6 separate regions of the Homo sapiens genome follow, and regions 2, 3, 4, 5 and 6 are each linked to region 1. Evidence: promoter capture Hi-C in 16 types of primary human blood cells and fetal thymus (Javierre and others, 2016). All regions are on one chromosome and are shown on one strand. Each heading gives the region's core, a stretch centred on a gene start or on the middle of the fragment in contact. The rest is flanking DNA. Distances are from core to core; before and after follow the strand shown. Region 1 holds the start of SHISAL2A (shisa like 2A). Region 2 overlaps PRPF38A (pre-mRNA processing factor 38A). Region 3 overlaps ORC1 (origin recognition complex subunit 1). Region 4 overlaps TUT4 (terminal uridylyl transferase 4). Region 5 overlaps TUT4 (terminal uridylyl transferase 4). Region 6 overlaps TUT4 (terminal uridylyl transferase 4).

Region 1 (2,862 bases), core at 89-2,588:
ATCTGATAAAGAGGCTGAAGTGCACCCTCATTAGTGTAGGCTCTCCAGCTCCCAGTCTGCTCAGACCCACAGCTCAGGGGAGGAATGTTCTGGAGGATAATAACAGTTCCCTCCAGCTTTCATATTTGACCTTACAGTGACTCTTGAGGACACCGCCTCCCTCAGAGCCCTCCCCTGCTTCCTCAGATGGTGCCCCTCTGTGTCCAGGTCCTTGCATTTCCCTTTTTACTGCCCTGTGCTGTGATCGTCAGTCAGTCTGACTCCTCCATCAGACTGTGTGTTTCTCAACGGCAGGCCCAGATCTGATCCCTCTCAGGGGCCCTAGGGCCCACCCAGGTCAGGGCAGCGGCACAATCAGCATCTGAGGAGCTGGCCTGGGTGAGGACAAGGAACCCAAAGCTCAGAGAGAAACAGCAGGGAAGGGGTAGAGCTGGGCTGGAGCCCAGATCCCCTGATACCCACGGCCCGTTCCCCACACGTCCAAACCAAGGGCGAAGGAATCGGGGGTGCCCGAGGCACCACAGTAACTATTTCCTACCCTACCCACTGCTGTGAAAAATGTAGAGCTAAGGCACTGAAGGTGCTGTATGAAGCCCTTCCAGATGGCGTAAGGCAACAGGGTACATGGGGGAAGCCAAGGCACTGAGAGCCCCTTCAGACTGTGGTTCTCTGATGCTAGTGAGAACACTGCCCTTGTTCTCTGGAAGTAATTTTTCAAAATGGACAGGTCTGCTGACTTTCTTTGCTGGTCAGTGTGGGGAAGGAGGTTACCGTCTGGGCCCATCCACACCCATATTCGGCTCCTTGTCCCAGGCCAGTGGCAGGCAGTATGAACAGAAGAGTGTGGACATTGTCCGTGCACGAGCTAGCTCTCAGCGAGACTAGCAGGGACTCCAGATGATGAGGACATCTAAAAGCCCGCTAGAAAAGAGGCACCATGAAAGCCGCAGAAAGAGCAAGGACTTCCTACTAGGCCGCCCCCGGTTAAAATCTCGTGGGCTTAGGAACTCCGGGAAATGGCTTCTCTCTGGCCCTCAGCTCTCACCTTTAACACGGATGCGAACATCCCCGGGCCCCTGGGTTTTTGCGGAGGTTGGGTGAGGTTGTGTTCACTCTCCTCACTGACCCCGCCGTGTGGTCGCCGGCTGGTGCCTTGTCTGTCTGCCCCAGCCCCGAATGCCCCGAGACTCCCGGCGCCGGCTCGGTGCAGGTAAGGCGCCCGCGCCCTGGCCTCGAATTCCCGCCCCGCCACTCTGGCCGCGTCGTGCTGTCGTTGCGCACCCAGCGCCCTCGTGCAGGCAGGGGGAGCGCAGTGGGGAGGGGGCAGGAAGCGCAGGCAGAGCCAGGCGAGCACGCGGCTCCCGGCCCAGCTCCCCGCGTCCGCTCCGGCTCCTGCCGCGTTCCAGCAGCCGTCACTCCCGCCGCCGGCCCCCGCCGCCCGCCCCGCCTGCCCCTACCCCTCCGCGCGGGCCGGGCACCTGGCCGCCGCTCGGTCCTCGGGGCCCCGCGCTGCTGTCTCTGTCTCGGCTTCTCTCGGCCCCTGGGTCTCTTCGTCTCTGCCGTTCTCAGGCTCAGCTCCGTCTCGCTCGGTCCCTCGCTTCCCCGCCGGGCTCTAGCCGGCCGTCTGGTGGCCCGAGGTGGCGGCGGGCTGGGCGCGGGGCGCGATGAGCGGCGCCTGCACGAGCTACGTGAGCGCAGAGCAGGAGGTGGTGCGCGGCTTCAGCTGCCCGCGGCCGGGGGGCGAGGCGGCCGCTGTCTTCTGCTGCGGCTTCCGCGACCACAAGTACTGCTGCGACGACCCGCACAGCTTCTTCCCCTACGAGCACAGCTACATGTGGTGGCTCAGGTACCGTCCCTGGCCCTCACCCTACCTTGAACCCCACTCCAGTCTCAGCGCCTTCACCCCAGCCTCAGCCCCCACCCGAGTGTCCACCTGAACATCAGCAGCAAGCTCTAGTCCTTACCGTCCTCATGCCCACAGCATCAACCACCCCGTGAAACCCCATCTCAGCTCGATTTCCTCATCCTGACCCCAACCATTATTTAGAGCCATGCTCGGACCTCCCCCTCCTCTAATCCAAAACAATCCTCACTCTATCCCCACCCCAAACTTCATTCCATCACCACCCTCATCCCAACCCCAAATCACATATCAAGCCTCCCCCTAACAGCAACTTCCATCTTCAAACATTCACAGGCAGCCCAACTCCACCCCAATCATCATCCCACCAAGGTGCCCTTCCTAATATCAACACCAGCCTTATTCCTGACTTTCCACACTCCCCAGTACTGACCCCAGACCTTATTCTATCACCAGCCCCAACCTCCTCTTCTGTCCTGCCTGCAGTCCCACCTCAGCTCTTCTCCCACATCCTGACTCCAAATATTATTAATATCTAGATCTACATCCAAACCTCAACCTCCAGACTTAACCCTCGCCTGGTGCTACACCCCAACCCCAGCCTCAGCCCAGCGTCAACCCTTGGTTCCCTTTTGTATTTAGTCATTCTTTCGGGCACTCTCTACTGAGCACTTGGTGTGTGCCAAGCCCTGTGGTGAGTGCTGGGGATGTACCCCATCCTCAAGCTAAGGCAGAAGACTCGGGAGTCAGAGCTGCCTCCAAGTTCATCATGAGACAATGGCATAGTGCAGAAGCTAGCTCAGGCCATATTCATAGAAGTGTTGACTCTCCACCCATAGGACCTCAGTTTCCCCATTTGTTCAGGGAAGAGGTTGCATTCCTGGAGCCTAAGTGTTGGCTTGAGAGGGTAATAGGTCTCAATCCCCCTGGGTCTCCAAAGGCCTTACCTGGAGAATGGAACTTGATCCTCAGCCTACTTTGGGAAACAGGCATCAGCAAAA
Region 2 (2,816 bases), core at 207-2,706, 210 kb before region 1:
AAAGTAAAAATAAACCCACGCACAAAGCCCAATAAATTTTAGTAACAGAAATAAACCTCCCTAAACAAACATTAAAACATACTTGTTTAGACATATGGTAATATGTGGACCAAAATTGAGGTACCACAGCCAATCAATAGCAGGAAAGAGAATGTCCCTATTCTTTAATTAGAAGAAGGAGGTAAGAGTAAGACATGTTGCATGTCTGTAGATATCGTTTTGATAAAATTACACAGGAGATGGAGCTTGAGGACAAACCTTGCTGTAAGGCTCTTTCTGTCATCTATGTGCTTGCCTATGGATGAAGCATTTTAAACTTTTTGACTACAGCATACATTTTAAAAACGTATTTTACATCTTACCTCTGTACACATCTGTATTCTGTACTGAGACAAATTTCAGGAAAGAATACTTACTATGCAAAGTGAATTCTGGTGTTTCCTACTTGTTAACAGTTTTTAATATTGGATGAAACCACTTAATCGATTTCACTTCCAATAATTTGAAATACACTGACTTAAAAGCTTTGCCATAGGGCACAATCGCCTTTTAATACTAAGAAAGTAAGGGAGATGTGTTCCAAGGGGCAAAAGAAATAATGCATTTTTGGCCAGGTGCGGTGGCTCACGCCTGTAATCCCAGCACTTTGGGAGGCCGAGGCGGGCAGATCACCTGAGGTCGGGAGTTTGAGACCAGCCTGGCCAACATGGAGAAACCCTGTCTCTACTAAAAAATACAAAATTAGCCGGGCATGGTGGCGCATGCCTGTAATCCCAGTTACTTGGGAGGCTGAGGCAGGAGAATCGCTTGAACCTGGGAGGCAGAGGATGCGGTGAGCTGAGATCGTGCCACTGCACTTCAGCCTGGGCAAAAAGAGCGAAACTCCATCTCAAAAAAAAAAAAAAAAGAAGAAGAAGAATGGGTTTGGTGAGAGGGTTCCAATATTAACAACCCAACTTCAAGCTCATTCCTCTAACCTCTTCCTGTTTGTTATTCTTCAGTAGACCGAAGTTTAAATAAGCATTATTTAGAAAAGAACGATCACAGATTGCCCACTCCCTCAAAAAGGTTAATGTGACAGAAATTCTCCACCTGCTCAAAAAAGACAGCAGACATGATCTCTTTAAAAAAAAAAAGTTCAAAAGAGATTAAGAGATGAAAAATAAGATTGGTGGAGTTTAAAGGCCTTATACTAGAAACCACAAAACATAAAACAGCACAGAGAAAATAGGCTGGAGGAAATAAAAAATGGAAAAGAGAAATATGTAGAATAAAGAAATATTCTGATGGTTTAAAAAGAATTGGCCGGGTGCGGTGGCTCACGCCTGTAATCCCAGCACTTTGGGAGGCCGAGGCAGACGGATCATGAGGTCAGGAGATCGAGACCATCCAGGCTAACACAGTGAAACCCGTCTCTACTAAAAATACAAAAAATTAGCTGGGTGTGCTGGCGGGTAGAGCTACTAGGGAGGCTGAGGCAGGAGAATGGCGTGAATCCGGGAGGCGGAGCTTTCAGTGAGCCGAGATCGCGCCATTGCACTCCAGCCTGGGCAACAGAGTGAGACTCCGTCTCAAAAAGAAAAAAGAATTAAATGGGGTCAGGATGGTCTCAGATCTTATAACAAGAAGGCAATGAAGCAAAAGGCTCCAAAGGTTTGAGAAAAAGTGCCAGGAATTTTATACTTTGCCAAAGTTGTCTTAAAATACAAAGGCTATAGATGTTCTCAAGTTTGTAAGAACTTAAAAGTACAAATCATGAGTCTTTGGGAAAAAACCGCCCAATAATGAAATTCAACTAAAGAAGAAATGAATCAAATTAAGGACTTAGGAACAAAGAATCAGTAAAAGGAGTGTTAGTAAACACTTCAGAAACTTTAAAAATAATGGGCAATGATTATAAAGTCAAATATTATGAACACTGTCTATATAGAAATAACAAGTAGAGTGTGCTGGTTTCATCTTTCATAGCAGGAATCACGTACAGTCTCTAATTAAAACATACATGAAGCTAGAAAAAAAAATAGCCTCTTTATTGTTTTCCGTAATTGTCCTTAATTTTAGGAGAAATCTTACAAGACTAGATTCTCTTGTGGGGAAAAAAGTATTTAAATTGAGCATTTTTTCAGTTTCACACTTGTTTTCCTTTTGTTAATTTGCTATATTTGTTAAATATAGCATATGAGCCCACTTTTGTAAAACTATTTGTATATATGTGCCTGTATGATTAAGAGAGATGGTTGGAATGAATGAAGTTCACCAGATAGTACTTCTTTCTGGCTGATGAACTTTTGAATGATTTTTAAACTTTGTACTTTTATATAATGCTTATTTTCTTTTTACAATAAACATGTTAATTTCTACAAGGAAGAAATGAGTTGTTGGGAGTTAAAAGCTTTTTTATAAGCATACCAACACATTTTACGTATTGTTTGCTGGAACTACAGATTGATAACCACTTTTATGAAGGGCAATTTGGCAATATGTAGCAGGAACCTTAGGACTTTTGATCCTTTTACCCAGTAATCCCATTTAGGGGAATTTACCCTAATAGAATAATTACATGTACACACAAATAGCTTTATCCCATCATCATTTTACACATTACATATATAATATGTATATATAAGAATAACTGGAAACAGCAAAAATGTCCATCTGTAGGGGATATAAACAAATATACAGTACATATTTATATTTTTAATAACCCTAATGTCAAGGGAAAATACTAATCTCCATGTCATTAAACAGAACATTTCAAAACAATTTGGTCTTAAATGTGTGTGTTCTCCCTGTATAAGATTGATAATTTTCTACTT
Region 3 (3,046 bases), core at 329-2,828, 230 kb before region 1:
CTAATTCCTGCTCATCCCTCAGGTCACAACCCAAATGTCACCTCTTGTAGGAGGCTCCTAACACATGATACGTGCTCTCAATAAATATCTGTTGAGATGAAACAGACAGGCAAGCACAGAAGATGACAGGAAATAATGCATTCCCTATGGGGTATTAGAGCCGGTAATATTTCTGGGGTCATGAAGTTCAGGAGGCAGACAGAAATAAGCTTCAAGGTAGAACCAAGGATGGTGGCATCACCTACCCGAACAAGGCCAATGATGGTCTCCGCATTAATGTTGCTGTCACAGGCCGGGTAATCATACCAGAATATTTCCTGTGCACCAGGCTTCCGGCCCAACAAATGCCGTTTACAGGCAGGGACTTCACAGAATCGGACAAACCACTGTACTCGAGCACGTTTCTTAGGAGGAGGATCAGAGTCTAGAAAGAATTTGGTGGAAAGGGAAAGGTTAAGACAACTCAAGGACACTTTACTGAGCAATTCCTATGTGCCAGACACTGTGCTTAACCCTTGACATGTGTGGTTTTGTTTTTTGTTTTTTGAGACAGAGTCTCTGTCACCCAGGCTGGAGTGCAGTGGCCCCATCTTGGCTCACTGCAACCTCTGCCTCCTGGGTTAAAGTGATTCTGCTGCCTCAGCCTCCTGAGTAGCTGAGATTACAGGCACCTGCCATCCTACCTGGCTAATTTTTGTATTTTCAGTAGAAACGAGGTCTCACCACGTTGGCCAGGCTGGTCTCAAACTCGTGACCTCACGTGATCTGCCTACCTTGGCCTCCCAAAGTGCTGGAATTACAGGCATGAGCCACCACCTCCCGCCAAAATTTTTTTTTTTTTTGTGACGGAGTCTTGCTCTGTCCCCCAGGCTGGAGTGCAGTGGCGTGATCTCGGCTCACTGCAACCTCTGCCTCCCTGGTTCAGGAGATTCTCCTGGCTCAACCTCCCGAGTAGCTGGGACCACAGGCCTGTGCCACCACGCCTGGCTAATTTTTATATTTTTAGTAGAGATAGGGTTTCACCATGTTGGCCAGGCTGGTCTCAAACTCTTGACCTCAAGTGATCCGCCCGCCTTGGCCTCTCAAAGTGCTGGGATTACAGGCATGAGCCACCATGCCTGGCCCAACATGTGTTATCTTTTATTTTATTTTATTTTTTTGAGACGGAGTCTCACTCTGTCACCTGGACTGGAGTGCAGTGGTTTGATCTTGGCTCACTGCAAGCTCCGCCTCCCAGGTTCACACCATTCTCCTGCCTCAGCCTCCCAATTAGCTGGGATTACAGGCGCCCGCCATCACGCCCAGCTAATTATTTTTTTGTATTTTTAGTAGAGACGGGGTTTCACCGTGTTAGCCAGGACGGTCTCAATCTCCTGACCTCGTGATCCGCCTGCCTCGGCCTACCAAAGTGCTGGGATTACAGGCATGAGCCACCACACCTGGCCGATCCTTAATCCTTCTAATAACCCTACAAGGTAGGTACTACAGCTATCCCCCTTTTCAGGCAAAGAAATCAAGTGACGGGGGACCTTAAAGAGTTTGTCAAAGGTCACATGACCAACTGCAGCAATCTAATTCCAGCCCACACACCCGCTCTTCTGGGATTGCTCCATTTCCTAATGGTGCTATCAGCCGGCAAAGGAATGACAAAAAGGCCTCTGAGAGGAGCTACTCTAAACACAGGCAACGAACAAATAAAAATCAGTGACTATAAAGACAGCATCAAACAGCAGCAAAACAAAAATCCTAGCAAGAATTATAGCATCAGGCTGGGTGCAGTGGCTCACGTCTGTAATCACAGTACTCTGGGAGGCCAAGGCAGGCGGATCACTTGAGGTCAGGAGTTGGAGACCAGCCTGCCCAACATGGTGAGACCTCATCTCTGCTAAAAATACAAAAAATTGTCCAGGTGCGGCGGCTCACGCCTGTAATCCCAGCACTTTGGGAGGCTGAGGCGGGCGGATCATGAGGTCAGGAGCTCAAGACCATCCTGGCTAACACGGTGAAACCCCGTCTCTACTAAAAATACAAAAAATTAGCTGGGCATGGTGGCGGGTGCCTGTAGTCTCAGCTACTCGGGAGGCTGAGGCAAGAGAATGGCTTGAACCCGGGAGGCAGAGCTTGCAGTGAGCCGAGATGGCGCCACTGCACTCCAGACTGGGCGACACAGCGAGACTCTGTCTCAAAAAAAAAAAAAAAAAAAAGAAAGAAAAAGAAAATTAGCTGGGCATGGTGGCAGGTGCCTGTCATCCCAGCTACTTGGGAGGCTGAGGCAGGAGAACTGCTTGAACCCAGGAGGTTGAGGCTGCATGAGCTGAGATTGTGCCACTGCACTCCAGTCTGGGTGACACAGCAAGATTCTGTCACTGTCACACACACACACACACACACACACACACAAGAATTACAGCATCAACCACTGAGATGACTTCTGGCAAATGCTTGCAATCTTCAGCTTTATTATTACAGCATACGATTAGTATCACTCCGTACCAGCAATAGCTCCAACCGAAAGAACACTCATTAGTGCCTCATCATCATCCTCTCTTCCCTGCTTAGCTTTCTTCAGAGAAAGACTAAAGTCATCCAATGGAGCACCAAGAGAGGATTCTAGAATCTATACACCGAAGCCCATGATTCTGATGTGCTGCCTCTACTGGACATTAGTTTGATGAGGTTTTTCTCCATACTTCTAAGTATGTCAAAGAGAAAGTATGTCCAAAATCCTCCTTATCTATGTGCAGTACTCTCCCCTTATCTGCTGAGGGTACGCGCCAAGACCAGTAGATGCTTGAACCTGCAGATGCTGCCACTAACCCTGTATATGCTATGATTTTTCCTACACACACATACTGTACAGCACGGATACACTGGACAAAGGGATGACTCACATTTCAGGTGGGACAGCGTGAGATTTCACCACATTACTCACAATGGCACACAATTTAAAGCTTATGACTTGTTTTTTTCTGTAATTTTCCATTTAATATTTTTGGACTATGGTTGTTGTCAGGTAACTGAAATCGCAGAAGGTGAAACCACGGAT
Region 4 (3,034 bases), core at 163-2,662, 190 kb before region 1:
GGTAAACGCTTTTTCTACATATAAAAAAAAAAAGAAAAGAACAATGTCTATACAGTACTATCCAAAACATGGACAGCAAATTTAAGTAAAATTATTAAATTATACAGATGCTAACATATATCAGTGAGCATTCTAGAACATAAAGACTATTTTAAAATTACCAGTTCTTCTGTTTTATCAAAGAAGAAAGCATTCCATCCATCAACCATTCTCTGTGGAATCTGTTTTCCATCAAAGATCTGCATAAAAAAATTAATTGTATTATTAGATTTCAAGTGATCCAACCCAAAGGTCCAAATACTCTAATACCATTTTAGAATTTACCTATAAGACATACTAAAATACTTCTTCCAAAAAGAACATGTCAGGATGATGGTATAATTTGATGCCAAGAAGTTAATGAATAAAACGTATCTGAAAGACCAAAGCTGGAAAAGGATGTCTTTTAAGAGCATTAAACTCCAAATGATACATTTGATGTTATCTACTTGACCTATCAAAACATATCCAGTCCAAGAATAATGAAGCAAAACTTAAAAAAGAAACAGCAGTCATGATGAAACAGCAGTTTCATCAAAGGATCACAGATATAAAAATACAAAATAGATAATACCCACTGATTGTGCACCCAAAGGAAGGCAACAGAACTGTTTTGGGACCTAGTACCTTTAATCATTTATCTATATCAGATAAGGCTAAAAAGCAATTGGACTATCATTTTGTAAAAATGGAAAATTAGGGCCAGGCACGGTGGTTCACGCCTGTAATCCCAGCACTTTGGGAGGCCGAGAATGGTGGATCATGAGGTCAGGAGTTTGAGACCAGCCTGGCCAACATGGTGAAACCCAGTGTCTACTAAAGATACAAAAAATTAGCTGGGCGTGGTGGCGTGCACCTGTAATCCCATCTACTCGGGAGGCTGAGGCAGGAGAAATGCTTGAACCTGGAAAGCAGAGGTTGCAGTCAGCCGAGATCGTGCCACTGCACTCCAGCCTGGGCGACAGGGCGAGACTCCATCTCACCAAAAAAAAACAAAAAAACAAAAAAACAAAAAAAAAAAAGGAAAATTAGGAAGCTTTCCCTTACATTTTGATAAAGACTATAAACTTTATTATGAATAATAATCCGCTGTCCTAAGGAGAAGAAAAAAGGAGAAAAAAACGCTATTTTTACAAGAAAAGTATCCCGTAAGATGTCTGTGTAACTGACTTCCACAAGTAATTGATACTTTTATTCTAAAGGAGGCTTAAGAGATGCAATAAAGTAGGAAGGTGCAACAGATTCAGTCAGGAGACCTAATTTCTAGCCTCTATCCTGAGGAATAGTGGTTCTGGGCAAGACAATCATCTCCCTAAGTGCTCACTTTTCCCAGTGAAAATGAGGAAAGACTATATAAATTAGTCAGTCAGTAGTTTATAAATGGAGAAAACATACCACACCACCTTCTCTTTACCCTCTACCGTGACTAATGGGTCCCAGAATACAGTTAAACCACAATACCATTTAAATCCACTAGTTAAGGTGGGCCTGGGCCCAATGGCCATTTCCATTTTTGATGTGACAGTGATTTATAAAATTAACTACATGTCTGGCCCCTCCAATTTTATCCTCAGATTTAAGTTCTTTGTGGGTAAGGACTATGGCTTATCTCTGAAACCCAGAACCCTACTAGACCAAAGCCACATAGAGAACACTTAATATATGTTTGTTGAATGACTATATTTAATATGTAAGTATGTTACACAGAAATCAAGCTTCCAGGGACTAGGGCTAATAAGTTGCTTTTTAACATTTACATATTACTTAAACAGATACAGTTTACTAAAAGTCATCTAGCACATATTCCGACATTTCATAAAACAAAAGTGAAAGACTGAGGCCGGGCGCAGTGGCTCATGCCTGTAATCCCAGCACTTTGGGAGGCCGAGGCAGGCGGATCACCTGAGGTCAGGAGTTCAAGACCAGCCTGGCCAACATGGCAAAACCCCGTCTCTAATAAAAATACAAAAAATTGGCTGGGCGTGGTGGTTCGTGCTGGTAGTCCCAGCTACTTGGGAGGCGGAGGCAGGAGAATCGCTTGAACTCAGGAGATTGAGGTTGCAATGAGCTGAGATTGTGCCACTACACTCCAGACTGGGTGACTAAGCGAGATTCTGTCTCAAAAAAAAAAAAAAAAAAAAAAAAAGAGGCAATTGCAGCTATTAATATCTGAAACAAAAGACATAGGATTTCTGACCTCAAGAAAGAAGTGAAGATATTAAGGGGCTGACATGTAATATTTTATCCTTAAAGATTCAGACGCTATTATAGGTATTTCATGTTTTGTAAACACAGATTTATTTGCTAGATATTGAAATAAACTACCTCTTTAGAACCCTGTTTTGAGATAATTCATACTTCTGAGTAACAACAATCCAACTCTTTAGATCATGATTGTTTTTAAGAGATTTCATACTTCTCAGTAATATCCATGATCCAGCCCAACTACGTTGGCTGATAACACAGTGGAGTAGGTCTGTGGGCCTTGTAACGTTAATCATCACTCATTTTGCCTATTCTTTTGAATTCTCATGTTTCACTGTGTTTAATTCTCTCCACTCTGTTTCAGCCCCCAGAAGCACTAATGCTATACACTTTTACACACACACACACACAGACACACACACACACACTCTCTCTCCCTGCTGTCTCTCTGTTCTCTCTCATTCAACACGAATCATCTTCAACTTAGCACTCAGTCCTCCCTCTAAACAAGTCAATCATATTATAAGGATCACCAAATAAGTCAATCATATTTATGTAAAGAATGACCCTAAACATTTCCAAAATTCTTATCTTATTGTGATATTCTAATATGTACTGTTATATTTACATTGCATTTTTCTGTTTAGACAGAGTCTCGCTCTGTCACCCAGGCTGGAGTGCAGTGGCACAATCTCAGCTCACTGCAACCTCCACCTCGCCAGTTCAAGCCATTCTTGTGCCTCAGCCTCCCAAGTAGCTGGGATTACAGGCATATGCCACCATGCCTGGC
Region 5 (3,016 bases), core at 179-2,678, 170 kb before region 1:
ACAACATGCTCTTGTCCATTTCTATGATTTAAATTACCTACCACTGGAAGAAATACTGAGAAATTCCAAAACATCTTGAGCCCAAGCTTTTGCCCAAGTTCCCATACCCATGTACCCAACTGCTTTTTCCAATTTTCCACAGACATCATACATTCAACACGTCTGAACTATCAACTTTGCCCCAAATCTATTACTATTTCTATTATCCCTGTTCTTAGCAAATAGTACCATCATGTACACAGATGCCCACATCAGAAATACAGGTGCAATCCTTAATATCTGTCTCTCAATGTCCACATCCAAACAATCATTGAGACTTTTAGCTTTTTCCGACTTACATAATAAATCCATCTGCTTTTATACATTCTCAACATCACTACCAATAGTTAAGATCAATATTTGAGGACTGCCCTCTTAAAAATAAATTAGTTCTTTCAAAGCACAATTCATGTAGGTTTACAAATATCACCTTAGTATACGATGCTCTTCCAAAAATGAGTGATTATAGTCCACTTGATATAAATTATGATAGGGTTAACCCTTCAGACTCAGTGTCATCCAATAACAGCTACCATTTCAAATAAGCTGTGGTTTAACAGAATTGGATTTTTCTTCCTATTACTTTTTTTTTTTTAGAGACAGGGTCTTGCTATATTGCCCAGGCTAGAGTGCACTGGCTATTCACAGGCACAATCATTATACACTACAGTCTTGAACTCCTTGCCTCAAGCAATACTCCCACCTCAACCTCCCAAGTGGCTGAGATAACAGGTGTGTGCCACTGGGCCTGGCTCTTCCTATTAATTCTAAAGTAGACTACACATTTATAGGACACTTTATACTTTCAAAACTTCATACCCCCATCCAGTTCTGATGCTCTACTTGAAATTTCAATGATAGCTGAGAGGCAAAAAAGAAGCTATACTCATCAGCAAATAAAACTGAGCATGATTTTATATAATAGAGACTTAGATTTGGTCAATACTTTATATACTCCTATAATCCCAGCGCTTCAGGAAGCCAACCAATGTGGGAGGATCGTTTGAGACCAGGCTGGGCAACATGGTGAGACTTTGTCTTTACAAAAATTTTTTAAGATAAAAAAGAAGGCGAGGTGCGGTGGCTCATGCCTGTAATCCTAGAATTCTGGGAAGCTGAGGTGGGTGGATCACTTGAGTTCAGGAGTTTGAGACCTGCTTGGAAAACATGGTGAGACTCCATCTCTACAAAAAATAATGTGCTGGGTGTGGTGGCGCGCACCTGTGGTCCCAGCTACTCAGGAGACTAAGGTAGGAGGATCGCTTGAGCCTCAGAGGTCAAGGCTGAAGTGAACCCTGATCACATGATTGCACCACTGCAGTTGAGCCCGGGTGACAGAGTAATATCCTATTTCAAAAAAAAAAAAAAATATATATATATATATATATATATTTTTGAGACAGAGTTTCGCTCTTGTCGCCCAGGCTGGAGTGCAAAGGCATGACCTTGGCTCACTGCAACCTCTGCCTCCCAGGTTCAAGTGATTCTCCTGCCTCAGCCTGAGTAGCTGGGACTACAGGCGTGTGCCACCACACCCAGCAAATTCTTGTACTTTTAGTAGAGACGGGTTTTGCCATATTGGCCAGACTCGTCTCGAACTCCTGACCTCAGGTGATCCACCTTCCTCAGCCTCCCAAAGTGCTGGGATTATAGGTGTAAGCCACCGCACCTGGCCAAAAAAAATATTTCTTAATAAAAAATAAATTAGCTAAGCATGGTGGCACACACCTGTAGTCCTAACGACTTGGGAGGCTAAGGCAGGAGGATTGCTTGAGCCCGGAAGTTTGAGGCTGCAGTGAGCTATGATCATGCCACTGCACTCCAGTCTGGGCAACAGAGTGAGAACCTGTCTCTAAAAAACAATAATGATGATATGATTTTTTAATTTAAAAAATATTTGTTTTCAAATACTTTTAATTGTAATATGTAGCACATAATGGGTCATCTTGTAAAAGTACAAATTCATTCTGATTAAAGTCAACTTTTATCCTTTTCTAAAATATTTAGTCACAAAAATCTTGATTCTTCATCCCCATGCCCAAAACTTACTCTTCCTGCTCTTTGCCATCTCAGTTATATAGGACCACCTACTGTAACTGTTATAGCAAAAACCTTGAAACCATCCTTGATTTCTTTCTTTCTCTCATGCCTCACATTTTCCATCAGCAAATCCTATTGGTTCTACCTTCAAAATATATCCCAAATCTGACCACTTCTCATCTACTCTGGACTCACACAACAGCCTCCTAAATGTTCTGCTTGCTTCCAGTCTTATAGCCCAGCAAACCATTCACTCAGATCATGTCATTTATTAACTAAAAATCCTCTAAAAGATTCTCATTAGGTACTCAAAATAAAATTCAAAGGCTTTCTACCAACATCCATAAGGCACTAATGACTTAATCCCTAGACCCCCTCTCTGACCTCTTCTATACATTACAATCTACCTCTAATACTCCACTCCAGCCACACTGACTTCCTGGCTATTCCTCAAATATGCCAAACATAATCTATTCTTGTTCCATCAACAATGTTTTCTCCTTGGATATTTATATAACTTGCTCCTTCATGTTATTCAGGATTCTCCTCAAATGCTACCTTATGAGAGAGGCCTATCATAACACTCCATCACTTCAGTTCTTTTATCTCCTATACTTTTAACAGCATGTATTATTTGCTGATATAATATTATATATTTATTAGTCAACTATTTGTCTCCCCATTTGAAACATAAGCTTCATGAGGTTTCATCTCTTTTATTAGCACTGTATTCCCAGCAACTAGAACAGTACTTAACACATAGCATTCAATAAATATTTTTAAATAAATGAAACTCAAGACTACATGACTACAGCAAAAACGCAATAAATTTTTTAACCTATGACATACCATCATATTCTTTTTGAATAAACTTTTCCAAGCCAATTAAAATTTGCTCCCTGTTGTGTTGTTCAGAACAAGGTGGTGATAACTCATC
Region 6 (2,904 bases), core at 117-2,616, 150 kb before region 1:
GCTATTTTAAAAAAATCTTTTAGAAGAAAAATAAACTAGGAATTATTTCTAAGTTTCTTAAGAAAATGAATACCATGAAAAAACTTTCTTTGCAACTAACACAAATGACAAAAACGAGACATGTTATTCTGTTGGAAACAGAAAGAAACCATTCTACAACCAGTTTTGTAATATATGTTTCAGTGTCCATTGACTGGCATATTTAGAATCTACATGGATCAACTACTAAAACACCATGAGCAACCTTTTCCAAGAGTCACTTTAGGAAACAATATTTATGGGCCATATTTTTTTCCAAAATAAAAAGAATGTATCTGAGTATCATTTATAATCTTCTAACACAGACTACTTATTTTACTGAGTAGAACAATGTCTGGGAGAAAACTGACATGACTTTATGACCACAAAAAAAATTAGGGCATAATTTAAAAGTACCAACAAAGAAGCAACTGTGTATTCCATCATCCTTTATATTTCTGTAGTATTTTCGAGCCTGAAGTATATTCTCATGAATTATCTAATAGCATTACCAAAATATTCTCTCCAGGTGAAAAAAATTGAAGCTCAGATAGGTGAAGTACCTTGCTTGAAGACTTAGCAAAGCTGGGTGCTGTGGCTCACACCTGTAATCCCAGCACTTTGGGAGGCTAGGGTGGGAGGATCATTTGAGCCCTGTAGTTGAAGACCAGCCTGGGCAACAAAATGAGAACCCATCTCTACAAAAATAAAAAATAAAAAATTAGCCAGGCACGTTGGTACACGCCTGTGGTCCCAGGTACTCTGGAAGCCCGCGGCAGGAGGATCGCTTGAGCCTGGGAGGTCGAGGCTACTGTTAGCCGTGATCGCTCACTCCAGCACTAGGTGACAGAGACCTCATCTCAAAAAACAAAAAAAAACTTAGTAAAAAAAACCATACCTGGAATTGGTTTACTCCATTCCATACACTGATTTCCTATAGTATGCTAGGCATAGAGTATAAGATAAATGAGAGGAAGTAGTCACCCTCCCTCAACCTATTTTACTGCCTCCACTCTCTTCCATGGGTTAAAAATCTTTCTGGCCCAGGCACAGTGCCTCACACCCATAATTCCAGCACCTGGGAGGGCAAGGTGGGAGGACTGCTTGAGCCCAGAAGTTCAAGGCCAGCATGGGCAACATCATGAGACCCCATCTCTACTTAAACAAACAAACAAAAAAAAACACAACTCCTTTCTGAAGAAACTAGGTCATTTATTCAACAAATATTTACTGAGTGCCTACTATGTGCTGACACAGTAAAATAAGCGGAAGTGGGGATCAGCCGTGAATACATAAAACATTAAAATCCCTGCCCTCAAAGAGTTTACAATTTCACAGTACAGACTGCAACAAATTTATGTATGGCAGCTGGTAATCAATGTGAGCATAAACCTGAAAAAAGTAAGAGTGAAGCATTCTAAATACCTAAGGTAAGAACATTCTAGATGAAGGAAACAGCAAATACAAAGGCCTTGAGTATAAAGAAGCCCCAACCTTAGGCTTTCTGACTGTTTCGTACTCAGCCAGCTGGTGCTGCTCCAAGCATGGGGGCAATTCTCTAAACAGAGCCCAGACAAAAAATTCCAGAGACTTCTCTATTTTTGCTATGAAGTTACCACTCTAACACCATCCCCTTAACCAGTTTTCTTTGTATATGACTGAGAATTTACTCACCAGTCTAACAAGTGATGAATACTCTACCGATAGGGCAGGAATACACAAACAAAAGGCTAAAATCTCTCTCTCTAGTCATTTGGACTGATATTGATAATTAACTACTACTCCCTATCCCCACATCAAAGAAATAAACACAGGGCAACCACAGCCTTTAGACATACAAATTAAGACTAATTTAGGAAACTTAAATAACTAATGCTCAGCAGTTGCCCAATCAGAAATTGGTACATGTTATCAATGATTTAGAGGAAAGAGAATAGCATTCTTAGAGACTGGGGAAAAAAATATGCCAACAAAAGAATCTTAATGTATATACATCTTAAAACCTTACAAGTTTAACTTACAGTAAGAGTGAAAACTTGAGCCTCATATGCTGATATGAAAGAGAACATTTCTATAGTACATAAAAGGAGAATATAGCATGACAATTAAAAATTCTAAAATATATCCATAAGTGTGTCTACAAAAATTTATTTTTATGTCCATAAATTACAACCTGCCACACCAACTTTCTGTCTAGCACAGAAAACTACTTTCTCCCACATGTTATGATTGATGTTACATGTCAGTACAAGAAAAGGCCTAATTTTGAAGATTAAATACATTTCCTTCTAAAAATATAAATAAGTAGTTTTCCTCTCTTTCACTTACCTTAGCCCAGTAGCGAAAGGCTAACACCAAGGGAATAAAGACAGGTTCTATTTTGCCAAGGGCAGTAAGTAAATCAGTAGTGAGACATGCCATATCGTTTCCTGCACTCACTCTACAAAGTAAACCACTGTGAATGAGAAAGAAACAAATTTCATTGTATTAATACCCTTAAAAGCAGAATACTTCAAATCCTGTGGCTATTTTCTTTCTAGTTATCATATTGTAACATAGTACCGTAAAAGCCCTAATAAAAACAAATGTTTTAATAAATTTAGAGCTAACTGAAAACTACATGTCATTCCATAACTAGAGTTCCATACGAATTAAAGAAAGATGTTTTTAACATTCATTTGTACTTCAGAAATAAATTTCAACCAAACTTAGTATTTAAGTTAATGAGAAATTAATTTCAAAAGCAGCATTATGAATTATCAAAACTGATATACATGAGAGACAGGGCACTGATCTCTTCAATGTCAAATAGTGCAAGGTAATTTCCTAGTTCAATCCTCTTGCTTTCTACATGATAATAGCAAAAAATGAATACTTAACTGACTG

Evidence for each region. Contacts are between HindIII fragments. The CHiCAGO score rates a contact against its expected background, and 5 or more counts as called.
Region 2: a fragment that was not itself captured here is called in contact with the fragment with the promoter of SHISAL2A in region 1 in 1 of 17 cell types (naive CD4 T cells); the score reaches 6.3 in naive CD4 T cells.
Region 3: a contact is called between a fragment that was not itself captured here and the fragment with the promoter of SHISAL2A in region 1, in 1 of 17 cell types (naive CD8 T cells). The highest score is 5.4, in naive CD8 T cells.
Region 4: a fragment that was not itself captured here is called in contact with the fragment with the promoter of SHISAL2A in region 1 in 5 of 17 cell types (total CD4 T cells, naive B cells, naive CD8 T cells and 2 more); the score reaches 7.3 in total CD4 T cells.
Region 5: a fragment that was not itself captured here is called in contact with the fragment with the promoter of SHISAL2A in region 1 in 1 of 17 cell types (total B cells); the score reaches 5.1 in total B cells.
Region 6: a fragment that was not itself captured here is called in contact with the fragment with the promoter of SHISAL2A in region 1 in 2 of 17 cell types (naive B cells and total CD8 T cells); the score reaches 5.5 in naive B cells.

What each region holds. Positions count from the first base shown.
Region 1 is chr1:52,631,830-52,634,691 of GRCh38, forward strand. It overlaps SHISAL2A (shisa like 2A), which reads left to right and starts at 1,339. Exons shown (of 3, transcript NM_001042693.3): 1 at 1,339-1,846. The coding sequence starts at 1,665. LOC124904178 (a long non-coding RNA gene) reads right to left here and starts at 1,626. Exons shown (of 2, transcript XR_007066084.1): 1 at 1,479-1,626. RefSeq lists silencers at 1,217-1,326, 1,417-1,606, 1,617-1,666. The HindIII fragment of the contact is 18,193 bases long and covers 1-2,862 here.
Region 2 is chr1:52,418,466-52,421,281 of GRCh38, forward strand. It overlaps PRPF38A (pre-mRNA processing factor 38A), which reads left to right. Exons shown (of 10, transcript NM_032864.4): 10 at 1-2,371. Among named protein-coding and RNA genes, the nearest start is that of PRPF38A, 15 kb to the left of the region's middle. The HindIII fragment of the contact is 1,868 bases long and covers 523-2,390 here.
Region 3 is chr1:52,397,440-52,400,485 of GRCh38, forward strand. It overlaps ORC1 (origin recognition complex subunit 1), which reads right to left. Exons shown (of 17, transcript NM_004153.4): 4 at 246-424. Among named protein-coding and RNA genes, the nearest start is that of ORC1, 5.5 kb to the right of the region's middle. The HindIII fragment of the contact is 2,742 bases long and covers 208-2,949 here.
Region 4 is chr1:52,446,429-52,449,462 of GRCh38, forward strand. It overlaps TUT4 (terminal uridylyl transferase 4), which reads right to left. Exons shown (of 30, transcript NM_001009881.3): 21 at 162-239; 22 at 1-14. Among named protein-coding and RNA genes, the nearest start is that of PRPF38A, 43 kb to the left of the region's middle. The HindIII fragment of the contact is 679 bases long and covers 1,074-1,752 here.
Region 5 is chr1:52,465,253-52,468,268 of GRCh38, forward strand. It overlaps TUT4 (terminal uridylyl transferase 4), which reads right to left. Exons shown (of 30, transcript NM_001009881.3): 15 at 2,929-3,015. Among named protein-coding and RNA genes, the nearest start is that of PRPF38A, 62 kb to the left of the region's middle. The HindIII fragment of the contact is 2,688 bases long and covers 85-2,772 here.
Region 6 is chr1:52,486,563-52,489,466 of GRCh38, forward strand. It overlaps TUT4 (terminal uridylyl transferase 4), which reads right to left. Exons shown (of 30, transcript NM_001009881.3): 9 at 2,347-2,473. Among named protein-coding and RNA genes, the nearest start is that of TUT4, 65 kb to the right of the region's middle. The HindIII fragment of the contact is 3,142 bases long and covers 1-2,904 here.